2 separate regions of the Homo sapiens genome follow, and region 1 is linked to region 2. The links are contacts of gene promoters, found by promoter capture Hi-C in human tissues and cell types (Jung and others, 2019). All regions are on one chromosome and are shown on one strand. Each heading gives the region's core, a stretch centred on a gene start or on the middle of the fragment in contact. The rest is flanking DNA. Distances are from core to core; before and after follow the strand shown. Region 1 overlaps LHFPL4 (LHFPL tetraspan subfamily member 4). Region 2 holds the start of TADA3 (transcriptional adaptor 3).

Region 1 (6,256 bases), core at 3,464-5,963, 260 kb after region 2:
GATCTCCTGACCTCGTGATCCGCCCACCTTGGCCTCGCAAAGTGTTGGGATTACAGGCGTGAGCCACCGCACCCGGCCTGACTTTTAATCCTATAGACTGATTTTGCCTGTTTTTGAAATGTATATAAATGGAATCACACTTTTGCTTCACATGAAGATTCATCCAGGTTGTTGCAGGTAACCACAGTTTGTCCGTCTTCACTGCTGTATACTATTTTGTTGGAGTAAACTGCACAATTTATTTATCCATTACATTGTTAATAGACATTTGTGTTGTTTCCAATTTGGGATTGTGAGTAAAGCTCCTACGAACCTTCTAGCACATATGTTTTGGTGAACTCATCTACACAGTTCAGCTGGGGACAGCCTGAAAAGAGGGGTCTGGGTCTAGGGGATGGTTCAGTGGGTTCAGCCCCAGCAGATGCTACAGCAAGCAGCTTTTGGAGACTGTAATACCTGGTGCTGGATCACCTTCCAGTGCCTGCCCCCTTTGAACTTGTAGACATTTTCCTTCTCTTGCTGAGGAGGGTCCTAGCACACAGGGGACATGTGGCGTGGGGTGGGCAGGTGAAAGCTCCTTTGGCAGCTTCTGCAGCCCCGCACTGTCCTCCAGGGCCCCTGCAGCAGCAGAATCTTCTGCCCCCACTGAGGCCTGTTTCTTCCCTATAGCTGAACTTCCATCTGCAGGGCCTGGGGGACAGGGACCCAGGTGAAAAAGTGGTAGGTGGCAGATCAGAGAGGCCACATCAAGGGAGAAGGGAGTGGGGCCTCTGGAGAGTCTGTTCAAGGACAGAAGACCCTGAGCACACCCAGCCTGATCCCCTATAACAGGTGGCAGCTGTGTTGAGTCATGCACAGAGGGGCAACTGAACACAAAAAAGGCCTCCCTAAAAGAGGATGGTGTAACCGTGTTCTAATGAAACCCTATTAAAAAGATAAGCATAGGCCAGGCGCGGTGCCTCATGCATGTAACCCCAGCACTTTGGGAGGCCAAGGAGGGAGGCTTGAGGCCAAGAGTTTGAGACAAGCCCAGAAAGAGAGTGAGACTCCATTTCTACAAAAAAATAAAAATTAGCTGGGTGTGGTGGCTTGTGCCTCTAGTCCCAGCTACTGGGGAGGCTGAGGCAGGAGGATCACTTGAGACCAGTTGTTTGAGGCTGCAGTGAGCTATGATCACACCACTGTACTCCGGCCTGGGTGACAGAGCAAGACCTTATCTCTAAAGTATAATAATAATAACAATAACTCAAGGCCGGGCACGGTGGCTCATGCCTGTAATCCCAGCACTTTGTGAGGCCAAGGCGGGCAGATCACCTAAGGTCAGGAGTTCGAGACCAGCCTGGCCAACATGGTGAAATCCCGTCTCTATTAAAAATATTTAGAAAATTAGCTGGGTGTAGTGGTGCACACCTGTAATCCCAGCTACTCGGGAGGCTGTGGAGCAAGAATTGCTTGAACCTGGGAGGCAGAGGTTGCAGTGAGCCGCGATTGTGCCACTGTACTCCAGCCTGGGTGACAGAGTGAGACTCCATCTCAAAACCACAACAACTAAAAAGCAATAGCTCAGCATAAAATGCATTATGAAAAGGCTTTACATAAAAGTACATCGATAGCACAAGCTTTAAAGAAAACAAGCACCTGAGTATAAAGTATATGTTCTCTTATTCTTTACCTCTTCTTAGGCTCATCCTAATTTTATTCCCTAAACTCAAGTAATCTTCCTTTGAACTCTCCTTTAGTTTTTTAGTCTTTTCTTTTCTTTTCTTTTCTTTTCTTTCTGAGATGGAGTCTCGCTCTGTTACCCAGGCTGGAGTGCAGTGGCCCATCTTGGCTCACTGCAGCCTCCCGTTCCCGGGTTCAAACAATTCTCCTGCCTCAGTCTCCCAAGTAGCTGTGATTACAGGTGCGCACCACACACCTGGCTAATGTTTGTATTTTTAGTAGAGACGGGGTTTCACCACGTTGGCCAGGCTGGTCTCGAATTGTTATTTCAGATGATCCACCCGCCTCGGCCTCCCAAATGCTGGGATTACAGGCATGATCCACCATGCCCAGCTGAGTTTCTTATTTCTTAAAAGCTCTCCTTCCCTGCCTCCTTCCCTCTCTCCCCCAGGCTACTTCTCAGAGGTAACCGTCATTAAGCTGCTTCTGTATCCTTCCAGACATGCTTATAGATACTCAAGCGTATATGCAGGCATACCTCGTTTTATTGTGCTTTGCTTTATTGTGCTTTACAGATATTGTATTTTTAATATATTGAAGGTTTGTGGCACCCTGAGTCAATCAAGTCTGTCGGAACTATTTTCCCTGCAGCACGTGCCCACTTCGTGGCTCTGTGTCACATTTTTGAAATTTTCACAATATCTCAAACCTTTCTATTATGATTATATCTTTTATGGTGATCTGTGATCAGTGATCTTTGATGTTACTATTGTCATTGTTTTGGGGCACCATGAACTGCGCCCATGTAAGACAGCAAGCTTCATAAATAAATGTGCGTATTTTGATTGCTACACCTGCTGGCTGTTCCCCTGTCTCTCTCCCTCCTTTGGCTTTCCTATTCCCTGAGACACAACAGTTTTGAAATTAGGCCAGTTAATAACCCTGTTATGGCCTCTAAGTGTTCAAGTGAAAGGAAGAATCATACATCTCTCACGTTAAATCAAAAGATTGAAATGTGGGCTGGGCCTGGTGGCTCACGCTTGTTATCCCAGCACTTTGCAGGAGGCTGAGGCAGGAGGATTTCTTGAGATCAGAAGTTCAAGACCAGCCTGGGCAACATAGTAAGACTCTGTCTCTAAAAAATAAGTAAATAAATAAATATTTAAAAACAAAAGCTGTTAATGATGAAGTAGTGAGGAAGGTGTGTCAAAACTGAGATAAGCCAAAAGTGAGGGCTCTTGTGCAAGTTGGCCAAGTTGTGAATGCAAAGGAAAAGTTCTTGAATGAAATAAAGTGCTGCTCCGGTGAGCACATGAATGATGAGAAAGAAAACAGCCTTATTTCAGATATGGAGAAAGCTTTAGCAGTCTGGATAGAAGATCAAACCAGCACAGCATTCCTTTAAGCCAAAGCCTAATCCAGAGCAAGGCCCTAACTCTGTTCCATTCTGTGAAGATTGAGAGAGGTGAGGAAGCTGCAGAAGAAAAGTTGGAAGCTAGCAGAGGTTGGTTCATGTGGTTTAATAAAATAAGCCATTTCCATAGCATAAAAGTGCAAAGTAAAGCAGCAGGTGGTGATGTAGAAGCTACAGCAAGTCACTAGAAGATCTGGCTAAGGTCATTGATGAAGATGGGTAGACTAAACAACAGATTTTCAGTGTAGATGAAACAGCCTTCTGTTGGAAGAAGATGCCATCTAGGTCTTTTATAGCTAGAGAGGAGAAGTCAATGCCTGGCTTTAAAGCTTCGAAGGACAGGCTGACTCTCACATTAGGGACCCATGCAGCTGGTGACTTTAAGTTGAAGCCAGTGCTCATTTACCACGTGAAAATTCTAGGGCCCTTAAGAATTATGCTAACTCTATTCCACCTATGCTCTATAAATGGAAAAAGCCTGAATGACAGCACATGTGTTTACAGCATGGTTTACTCAATATTTTAAGTCCACTGTTGAGACCTATTGCTCAGGATAGGAAAAAAAAAAAAAGAGCCAGGCACAGTGGCTCATGCCTGTAATCCCAGCACTTTGGGAGGCTGAGGTGGGTGGATCAGAAGGTCAGGAGTTCAAGACCAGCATGGCCAAGATGGTGAAACCCCATCTCTACTAAAAATACAAAAATTAGCCAGGTGTGGTGGCAGGCGCCTGTAATCCCAGCTGTCAGGAGCCTGAGGCAGAGACTTGCTTGAACCCGGGAGGTAGAAGTTGCAGTAAGCCGAGATCACGCCACTGCACTCCAGCCTGGGTGAAAGAATGAGCCTCCATCTCAAAAAAAAATAAATAAATAAAATAAAAGATTCCTTTCAAAATATTAGTGCTCATTTATAATGCACCTGGTCACACAAGCGCTCTCAGGAAGATGTACAAGGAGGTTAATGCTGTTTTCATGCCTGCTAACACAATATCCATTCTGTAGCCCATGAGTCAAGGAGTAATTTTGACTTTCAAGTCTTAATATTTAAGAAATACATTTTGAAAGGCTATAGCTGCCATAGATAAGTTGTTCCTCTGTTGGATCTGGGCAATGCAAATTGAAAGCCTTCTGGAAAGAATTTACCACTCTAGATATGCCATTAAGAACATTGGTGATTCATGGCCGGGCGCGGTGGCTCGCATCTGTAATCCCAGCACTTTGGGAGGCCAAGGTGGGTGGATCACAAGATCAGGAGTTCGAGACCAGCCTGGCCAACATGGTGAAACCCCGTCTCTACTAAAAATACAAAAATTAGCTGGGTGTGGTGGCACGCACCTGTAGTCCCAGCTACTTGGGAGGCTGAGGCAGAAGAATCGCTTGAACCTGGGAGGCAGAGGTTGTAGTGAGCTGAGATAGTGCCACTGCACTCCAGCCTGGGTGACAGAGTGAGACTCCATCTAAAAAAAAAAAAGAACATTGGTGATTTTCCTAAACCCGGGAGGTGGAGGTTGCAGTGAGCCAAGATCGTGCTACTGCACTCCAGCCTGGGCCACACAGTGAGATTCCATCTCAAAAAAAAAAAAAAGTTGGGGGGCTGGGTGCAGTGGCTTATGCCTGTAATCCCAGCACTTTGGGAGGTCAAGGTGAGCAGATCACCTGAGGTCAGGAGTTCAAGACGAGCCTGGCTAACACGGTGAAACCCCATCTCTACTAAAAATACAAAAATTAGCCAGTGTGGTGGCACACGCCTGTAATCCCAGCTACTTGGGAGGTAGAGGCAGGAGAATTGCTTGAACCCGGGAGACAGAGGTTGCAGTGAGCTGAGATTGCGCCACTGCATTACAGCCTGGGCGACAGAGCAAGACTCCGTCTCAAAAAATAATAATAATAATAAATGGAACATTGGTGATTCATGAGAGAAGGTCAAAATGTCAACATGAACAGGAGTTTGAAAGAGGTTAATTCCAGCCCTCATGGATGACTTTGAGGAGCTGAATACTTCAGTGGAGGAAGTAACTGAAGGTGTGGCGAAAATAGAAAGAGAACTAGCATTAGAAGTGGAGCCTGAAGATGGGACTGAATTGCTGCAATCTCATGATCAGACTTGAATGGATGAGGAGTTGCTTCTTATGGATGAGCAGACAGTGGTTTCTTGAGATGGAATCTACTCCTGGTGAAGATGCTGTGAGCACTGTTGAAATGCCCACAAAAGATTTAAAATATTACATAAACTTAGTTGATAAAGCAGGAGTAGCATTTAAGAGGATTGATTCCAATGTTGAAAGAAGTTCTGTAGATAAAATGCTATCAAATAGCATCATATGCTACTGAGTAAACTTTTGTGAAAGAAAAGTCAATCGATGTGGCAAACTTCGTTGTTATCTTATTTTCAGAAATTGCTACAGCTACTCAAACCTTCATTGCAACTTGCTGAAGGCTGGCTCAGATGATAATTTAGCAATAAAGTATTTTAAAACTAAGGTATACACATTGGGTTTTTTTTAGACATATGCTATTGCACACTATTAGTATATAGTGTAAACATGACTTTATATGCATTGGGAAACCAAATAATTTGTGTGACTTGCTTTATTGCAATATTTGTTTTATTACGGTGGTCTGGAACCAAACTCGCAATATCCCCAGGGTATGCCTCTGTGTGTGTGTGTGTGTGTGTGTGTGTGTGTGTGTGTGTGTTTGTATTTGAAAAATTAATTTGTACAATTATTGGTTTTCTGGGTTTTTAAAAAAATTATTCCGCCACACTAGTCTACTGTATATGGGTTTTGTTTTTGTTTTTCAGACAACATCTGGCTCTGTTGCCCAGGCTGCAGTGCAGTGGCATGATCTTGGCTCACTGCAACCTCTGCCTTCTGACCTCAAGCAATCCTCCCACCTCAGCCTTCCAAATAGCTGAGACTACAGGCGCTTGTACCATGCCTGACTAATTTTTTGTAGAGATGGGGTTTCACCATGTTGCCCAGGCTGATTTTGACTCCTGGGCTCAAGCAATCGTCCCACCTCAGCACTCCCAAATAAGTGAGACTACAGGCATGCACCACGATGCCCACTAACTTTTTGTATTATTATTATTTTTTTTAGTAGTGTCAGAGTTTTGCCATGTTGCCCAGGCTAGTCTCAAACTCCTGAGCTCAAGTGGTCCACCTGCCTTGGCCTCCCAAAG
Region 2 (6,176 bases), core at 2,128-4,627:
TGCTGGGATTACAGACATGAACCACTGCACCTGCCCTCCTTCATGCCTTTGTAAGTGATTTCTCCTTTACTAGGCTGTAAACCTCATGGTCAACAGACCATATCTATTTTATTCACAGCTATATAGCCTCCAACCTAGCTCAGTACCTAACATATACAGTGTCTCACTCATTTCCTGTAGAATAAATAAGCGAAAGAAATAATTAAGATTAGAGTAACACAAAAGGACAGCAAGAGTTCCAGAGTAGTAATGAGTACAATGTTTCTGTATATGAGAAGCATTTTAGATTCACTAAATGAGGCTGCAGCGGTAGGCTGAGGTAAGATCATGGGGAATCTTGAATGCCAGGCTACCAAGTTTAGCTTTTCTCTTAAGGGGGTAAGGAACTACTGGGGCTTTCTGAGGAGGAAGTTCATGACTGCAGCTGCATGATGGCTCTGTGGAGAATGATTTGGAGAGGGAAGTGAGACATACAGCAGACTGTATCACAAGCAAAGAGTATCACAAGCGTTGGACTGACATTAGATGGAGTGGATAATGGAACTGAAAAAAAACTTCCCAGGGGCTCACGCCTGTAATCCCGGCACTTTGGGAGGCCGAGGTGGGTGGACCACCTCAGGTCAGGAGTTCAAGACCAGCCTGGCCAACATGGCAAAACCCCGTCTCTACTAAAAATACAAAAAATTAGCTGTGGCGGGTGCCTGTAATCTCAGCTACTTGAGAGGCTGAGGCAGTAGAATTGCTTGAACCCAGGAGACTGAGGTTGCAGTGAGCCGAGATCACGCCACTGTGCTCCAGCCTGGGTGACAGAGCGAGACTGTGTCTTAAAAAAAAAGAAAAAGAAAAACCACTTCCAACGAACTGTGGTCCAGCCATTCAATTAACTACTACTTGGTAATAAAAAAAGAGTAACTATTGATACACACAACATGGTTGACTCTCAAATGTATTATGGTAAGAAGCCACACTTAAAAGCCTGCATACTAAAGAATTCCATTTACATGACAATCTGAAAAAGGCAAAACTACAGGGGGGAAAAATCAGTAGTTGTCTGGGGTGGGAAGGAGAGGACTGATTACAAAAGGGCTTGAGGGAACTTTTTGGGGTGACGGAAATGTTCTGTATTTTGGTTGCAGTAGTGGTTACACAACTTGACTTTTTTTTTTTAAGACACGGGATCTTGCTATATTGTCCAGGCTGAAGTGCAGTGGCTATTCACAGGAGTGATCACAGTGTACTACGGCCTCGAACTTCTGGGCTCAAGTGATCCTCCTGCCTCAGTGTCCTGAGCGGATGGTACTACAGGCGCATGCCACCATACCCAGCAAGTTTTTGCAACGCTTTTTTTTTTGAGACGGAGTCTTACTCTGTTGCCCAGTCTGGTGTGCAGTGGCACGATCTCGACTCACTGCAAGCTCTGCTTTCTGGGTTCACGCCATTCTCCTGCCTCAGCCTCCTGAGTAGCTGGGACTACAGGTGCCCACCACCACGCCCGGCTAATTTTTTGCATTTTTAGTAGAGAAGAGGTTTCACCGTGTTAGCCAGGATGGTCTCGATCTCCTGACGTCGTGATCCGCCCGCCTCTGCCTCCCAAAGTGCTGGGATTACAAGCGTGAGCCACCACGCCTGGCCTTTGTCAACAGTTATAGAAAGTAAACCTAAAAAGGGTGACTGGCTCCGTGACGCCTGTCCTTTCATGAATAAAACAGATGTAGTCTCATGTAATACCTCAATAAACTTGAACTTTTAAAAATCAAGAGGCATGTGCCCCACTAGAAAAAAAAAATACAGATTTTTAGCAGAGACATGAGGTCACAAAAGTTTGCCAGGATAGGGAACCCAGGAGGAAGAACAAATTTAGAATAGAATATGAGTTTTGAACTAGAGGTCTAATTTCAAGGTCTCTTCAAGATATCCAGGCAAACCTTGAAAGAGAGCTGAGAAGCCAGATTAGGAGTCATCAGAATGAAGAAAGTTATCGAAGCCAGGAGACTAGATCGGTATCACCAGGGAAGGTGTGACGAAGAGGGAGATGGTCATCCAAAGTCACAACTCCCAGGAATGCCCACACGTATGAAAAAGGCCCACATGTATGAAAAAGGCCCACATGTATGAAAAAGGGAGGACTTCCAGGAAGGGAGGGATGAGCAGTATCACAGCTAACATACACTAAGGCTGACACAGTTCAGTTCTGACCAGGAAGGGCCTGAATGGAAGCAACACGAGAGATCCTCCAATGGGGTGGAAGCAGGGCTGGAGGTACCAAGAATGGGATAAGGAAGTGTGGCCGCCTGCCTTAAGCAACTGTAGGGTCAGGAAGGCAGAAGAGGACAAAGGGCGTATGTCGTGAAGTTCCACTGTGGATAGGCAGGTGGACTTGCTTCATGCCTCAGAGGCTAAGAGGCCGACTACGTACCCTCGAAATGCTCCAAAGAGCCTAGGAGACCCCACTTCCGGGTTCCTACAGGGCTCAGGAAAAGCCCCTACCTGCTTCGAAGGCTGACCGTGAAGCCACAAGGCCCACTTCATACCAGGGAGTACCCCCACTCGCCCCTTCCTCACCTCGGGCCCCCGCCCCGTCTCTTTTTCCCACCCTCATCGTGTCCCCACAACCCCCGGACATCCCTCGGCCCCGCGCCCCTGCGGCAAAGCCACATCTCCCACCGACCCACTGCCCTGAGGCCGAACAGCCGGGGGTCCCTGGCCGGGGGCCCGGCTCTCTCACCATCGCGGGCGCTGGCTGGGCCGGAAAGCGGAAGTACGGAAGTGGCCAGCCCCGCGATGCCTGCCCTTTCGCGAGAAGCGCAGCTACGGTCTCCGCCCGGACTTCCGGACGGTACCATCTATGCTCCGAGCGGGGTAGAGAGCCCTTACGAACGCTTGGGCCTTCCGGAAGTTTTCCACCTAGGGCTGTCTCGGTATTTTTAAATTCTTGCACTCGAGTCACTATTTAAGCTCCTCCAGGAATGGGTGCAGCTTCCCTTTGTGCCTTCGGCCTTCTTGTCACCTTTGCCACAGCCTCCCCCAGGTATGCAATGGTACAGCCCAGCTTCAGATTGGGCACCAAATTAGGACAAGCCGAAGCGGACGAGCCCTTCGTTTCTTCCGGTTCTGTACCCCCATCCTTTCTCTCGCCCCTCCTACCCGCAGCTCCTGGCGCTCGGCGGGGCTAACTGCAGCGCGGAGATCTCGGCCGCCAAGCTCCGCCTCCCGCCCCGGGCTGTGCCCCGGGGCTCGCCTGAGGCCGACCACCCGCACCCCACCTCTAGCGGCTTTGCTCGAGGCCCACCTTCTTCCCACCCCCGGCAAACTCCAGTAGGCTCGCCCTCGCTGACTCCCCGCCCCCGCGTCAACTGCAAGGGGCCCGCCCATAGCCAGTTCCGGGGCGGTTGCTCACATCGACCGGAACTCCCCGCCCCCTCCCGCGGCCCCTGGGGCCGTAGGAGGCCGCAGCGAGGAGGTAGAGGGGGCGGGGGTCGCACTAGGGTGTCCCTAGAGAACGAGGACTCTGAAGGCGGGACATTTGGGCGACCCCCGGGCGGGGCCAGCCATTAAACAGTCCCACTTCTGTGCCAGACACTGAACTGGGCTCTTGACGGGCATCATCTCTTAATCCTCAGAACATCCCAGGGAGGTAGGTACTATTGTTATCCCCATTTTTCAGATTCAGACTTTTAATGGGGAAACAGACCGAGACTTCTTTTGTCCCCATTTTACAGATGGAAAAACTGAGACTGAAAAAGGTCAAATAACATGTTCAGGGGCATATAAGTAGAGAATGGTAAAGCCTGGGCTTGAACCCAGGTCTGTCTGGCTTACCAGCCCACGTTCTAAACCACTGTTAGTGACTAGAGAAGGGAGAAAGGTGGAATAGGGTAAGAAAAGAGGCCAAGAGTCCCAGAGAACATGGTAAGAATGGGGTGCTTGGAACTCAAAGTCTTAGCAGAACCCAAGAGAAATAGAAGGGAAGGAAAGAGCATCAGAAAGGCGAGGCAAGGCATAGCAGTATAGCATGGTGATCAGGGTGCAGACTCAAGACTAGCGGGGTTCAAATTGCATCTTGGAAGCATAGGCACATACCCACCCTTACAGAGTCTCAGTTTCTTTCTCTGTAAAAACGAGATCACAATGGTCCTTGTTCATGGTGCTGAGTGAGAAATTCAGTGAGATAAACTGATAAAGTGCTCTGCACCTAGCTTGGTACCCAGTTAAGTGCCCTGTGAGTAGGAACTGTGCCATCAATTTTGTCAGTAAGGGACTGAAGCTGGGCTTCCTTGAGGCTGTCCCTGGAGGTAAGAAGCCCTTGGGCTTTTCTCAGACCACTTTGTCTCCCATCAATGGCCCTGTCCTCTCCAGCTCCACAGGATCCCCATATCCTGGGCCATGAGTGAGTTGAAAGACTGCCCCTTGCAGTTCCACGACTTCAAGTCTGTGGATCACCTGAAGGTCTGTCCCCGCTACACGGCAGTGCTGGCACGCTCTGAGGATGATGGCATCGGCATCGAGGAGCTGGACACCCTGCAGCTGGAGCTGGAGACCCTGCTGTCTTCTGCCAGCCGGCGCCTGCGTGTGCTTGAGGCCGAAACCCAGGTGATAACCCCAGAGAGGGGCCAGCACCAGAGATGGACTGCAACAAGTTATGGGATGGGTCATTGAGTTAGCCCCATATGCTGAGACTTGGGGTACAGGGGTTTGTGGGGAGAGGGAGAGAGACGCAAACTGGGTTTGCATGACACAAAAAATACACAAGAATATGCATGATCCTCTTAAATTGCAAGATTTCTAATTCAGTAAGCTTTTATTGGCACCCCACTCATCCCCCATTGTGTTCTGGGTCCTATGCTAGTCATTAGAGAAAGGTAATTAGGACAGTTATGGCTGTCAGGGAGCTTGGCAACTAGGAAAGTGAGAAAGTCAAGTACATACCAGGTGATGTGATGTTGTGGTTAGCAGTCCTAGGGAACTGGAATGGGGAAACCTGGATTTGAATCCTGGCATAAGCGCTTGCTAGCATTGCTGTTTCCTAGCTATGTGACTTTGAGAAAGTTGCCTCATATCTCTGAGTGTCAGTTTCCCTATCTGCAAAGTGGGGTGAATAATAGGACCTACCTTAGTGCTTTTGTGAGGATTAAAAGAGAATTTTTTGCAAAAACTCAGCCCAATGCCAGACACTAAGTAAGTACTTCAGATGTTATTTATTTGCTACTCTGATGACTTTATTCACTGCATAAAGATGCCTTGAGCCTTGTGTGCCAGGCGCTATGCTGTATTCTGCAAAATAGAGATGGTTAAGGTGGGCTTTCTGGTCCTCAGTAGCTTATGGTCTAGTTGAAGAGACAAGGTGTGATGGTCATTCCAGTGTGACCAAACAACACGATTGGGTGCACGTTGGAGCTGTGAAGTGCCAGAGACTTGTGGAGGAAGGAGGTGCCAACTGGACCTAAAAGGATGAATGGAATTAACTTGTCCCTGGGAATCCATGGACCCTCCTTGAGGAAGGCTATGACTCAAGTTGTATTTTAGCATCTAAGAACCTGGGTAACTGATTGAGAGAAGGCATCTCAGTAGTGGTGACATCGAAGTGAAGGTTTGCTGAGAGGACTCTTCTGTTAAACAGTATGTGACTGGCATGGGTGATACAGAAGTGAATCAGTATAGATGAACAAGTGAATGAGATTATGAGAAGTATATGAATAAAGTTCTAGGAGGCCAGGCACAGAAAATGAGCTGAATTTTGAAGGATGAGTAAGAGTTTACTAGGTAAAAAGAGGATGGGGAAAGACCCAGGAGCCTCTGTAGATTCTAGATCCTAATTTATTCACTAGAGGAAAGAGATATTCTGTGTTTTCCCTTCTCCCCCTCAGTGACACTTTCTGTAAATTTCAGATCCTCACCGACTGGCAGGATAAGAAAGGTGACAGACGATTCCTGAAGCTGGGTCGAGACCATGAACTTGGAGCTCCCCCCAAACATGGGAAGCCCAAGAAGCAGAAACTGGAAGGGAAGGCAGGACATGGGCCGGGCCCTGGCCCAGGACGGCCCAAATCCAAAAACCTTCAGCCCAAGATCCAGGAATATGAATTCACTGATGACCCTATCGACGTGCCACGGATCCCCAAAAATGATGCCCCCAACAGGTTCTGGGCTAGAGAACATAGAAGGGGGCCTCAAGGTTC

The links. The method cuts DNA at HindIII sites, captures the fragments that hold promoters and counts their contacts. A contact is called where the count stands out against the background at its distance.
Region 1: a contact is called between a fragment that was not itself captured here and the fragment with the promoter of TADA3 in region 2, in 2 of the 25 tissues and cell types used here (heart right ventricle and thymus).

What each region holds. Positions count from the first base shown.
Region 1 is chr3:9,527,323-9,533,578 of GRCh38, reverse strand. All of the region lies in intron 2 of LHFPL4 (LHFPL tetraspan subfamily member 4), which reads left to right. Among named protein-coding and RNA genes, the nearest start is that of LHFPL4, 23 kb to the left of the region's middle. The HindIII fragment of the contact is 5,325 bases long and covers 2,051-6,256 here.
Region 2 is chr3:9,789,674-9,795,849 of GRCh38, reverse strand. It overlaps TADA3 (transcriptional adaptor 3), which reads left to right and starts at 3,377. Exons shown (of 9, transcript NM_006354.5): 1 at 3,377-3,634; 2 at 4,357-4,590; 3 at 5,887-6,137. The coding sequence starts at 4,384. It overlaps ARPC4-TTLL3 (ARPC4-TTLL3 readthrough), which reads right to left and starts at 3,302. Exons shown (of 12, transcript NM_001198793.1): 1 at 2,726-3,302. The coding sequence starts at 2,728. ARPC4 (actin related protein 2/3 complex subunit 4) reads right to left here and starts at 2,768. Exons shown (of 6, transcript NM_005718.5): 1 at 2,726-2,768. The coding sequence starts at 2,728. It also overlaps a transcript of OGG1 not described here. RefSeq lists enhancers at 2,103-2,192, 2,392-2,918, 2,893-2,992, 2,919-3,445, 4,550-5,050 and silencers at 3,123-3,412, 3,473-3,562. The HindIII fragment of the contact is 18,412 bases long and covers 1-6,176 here.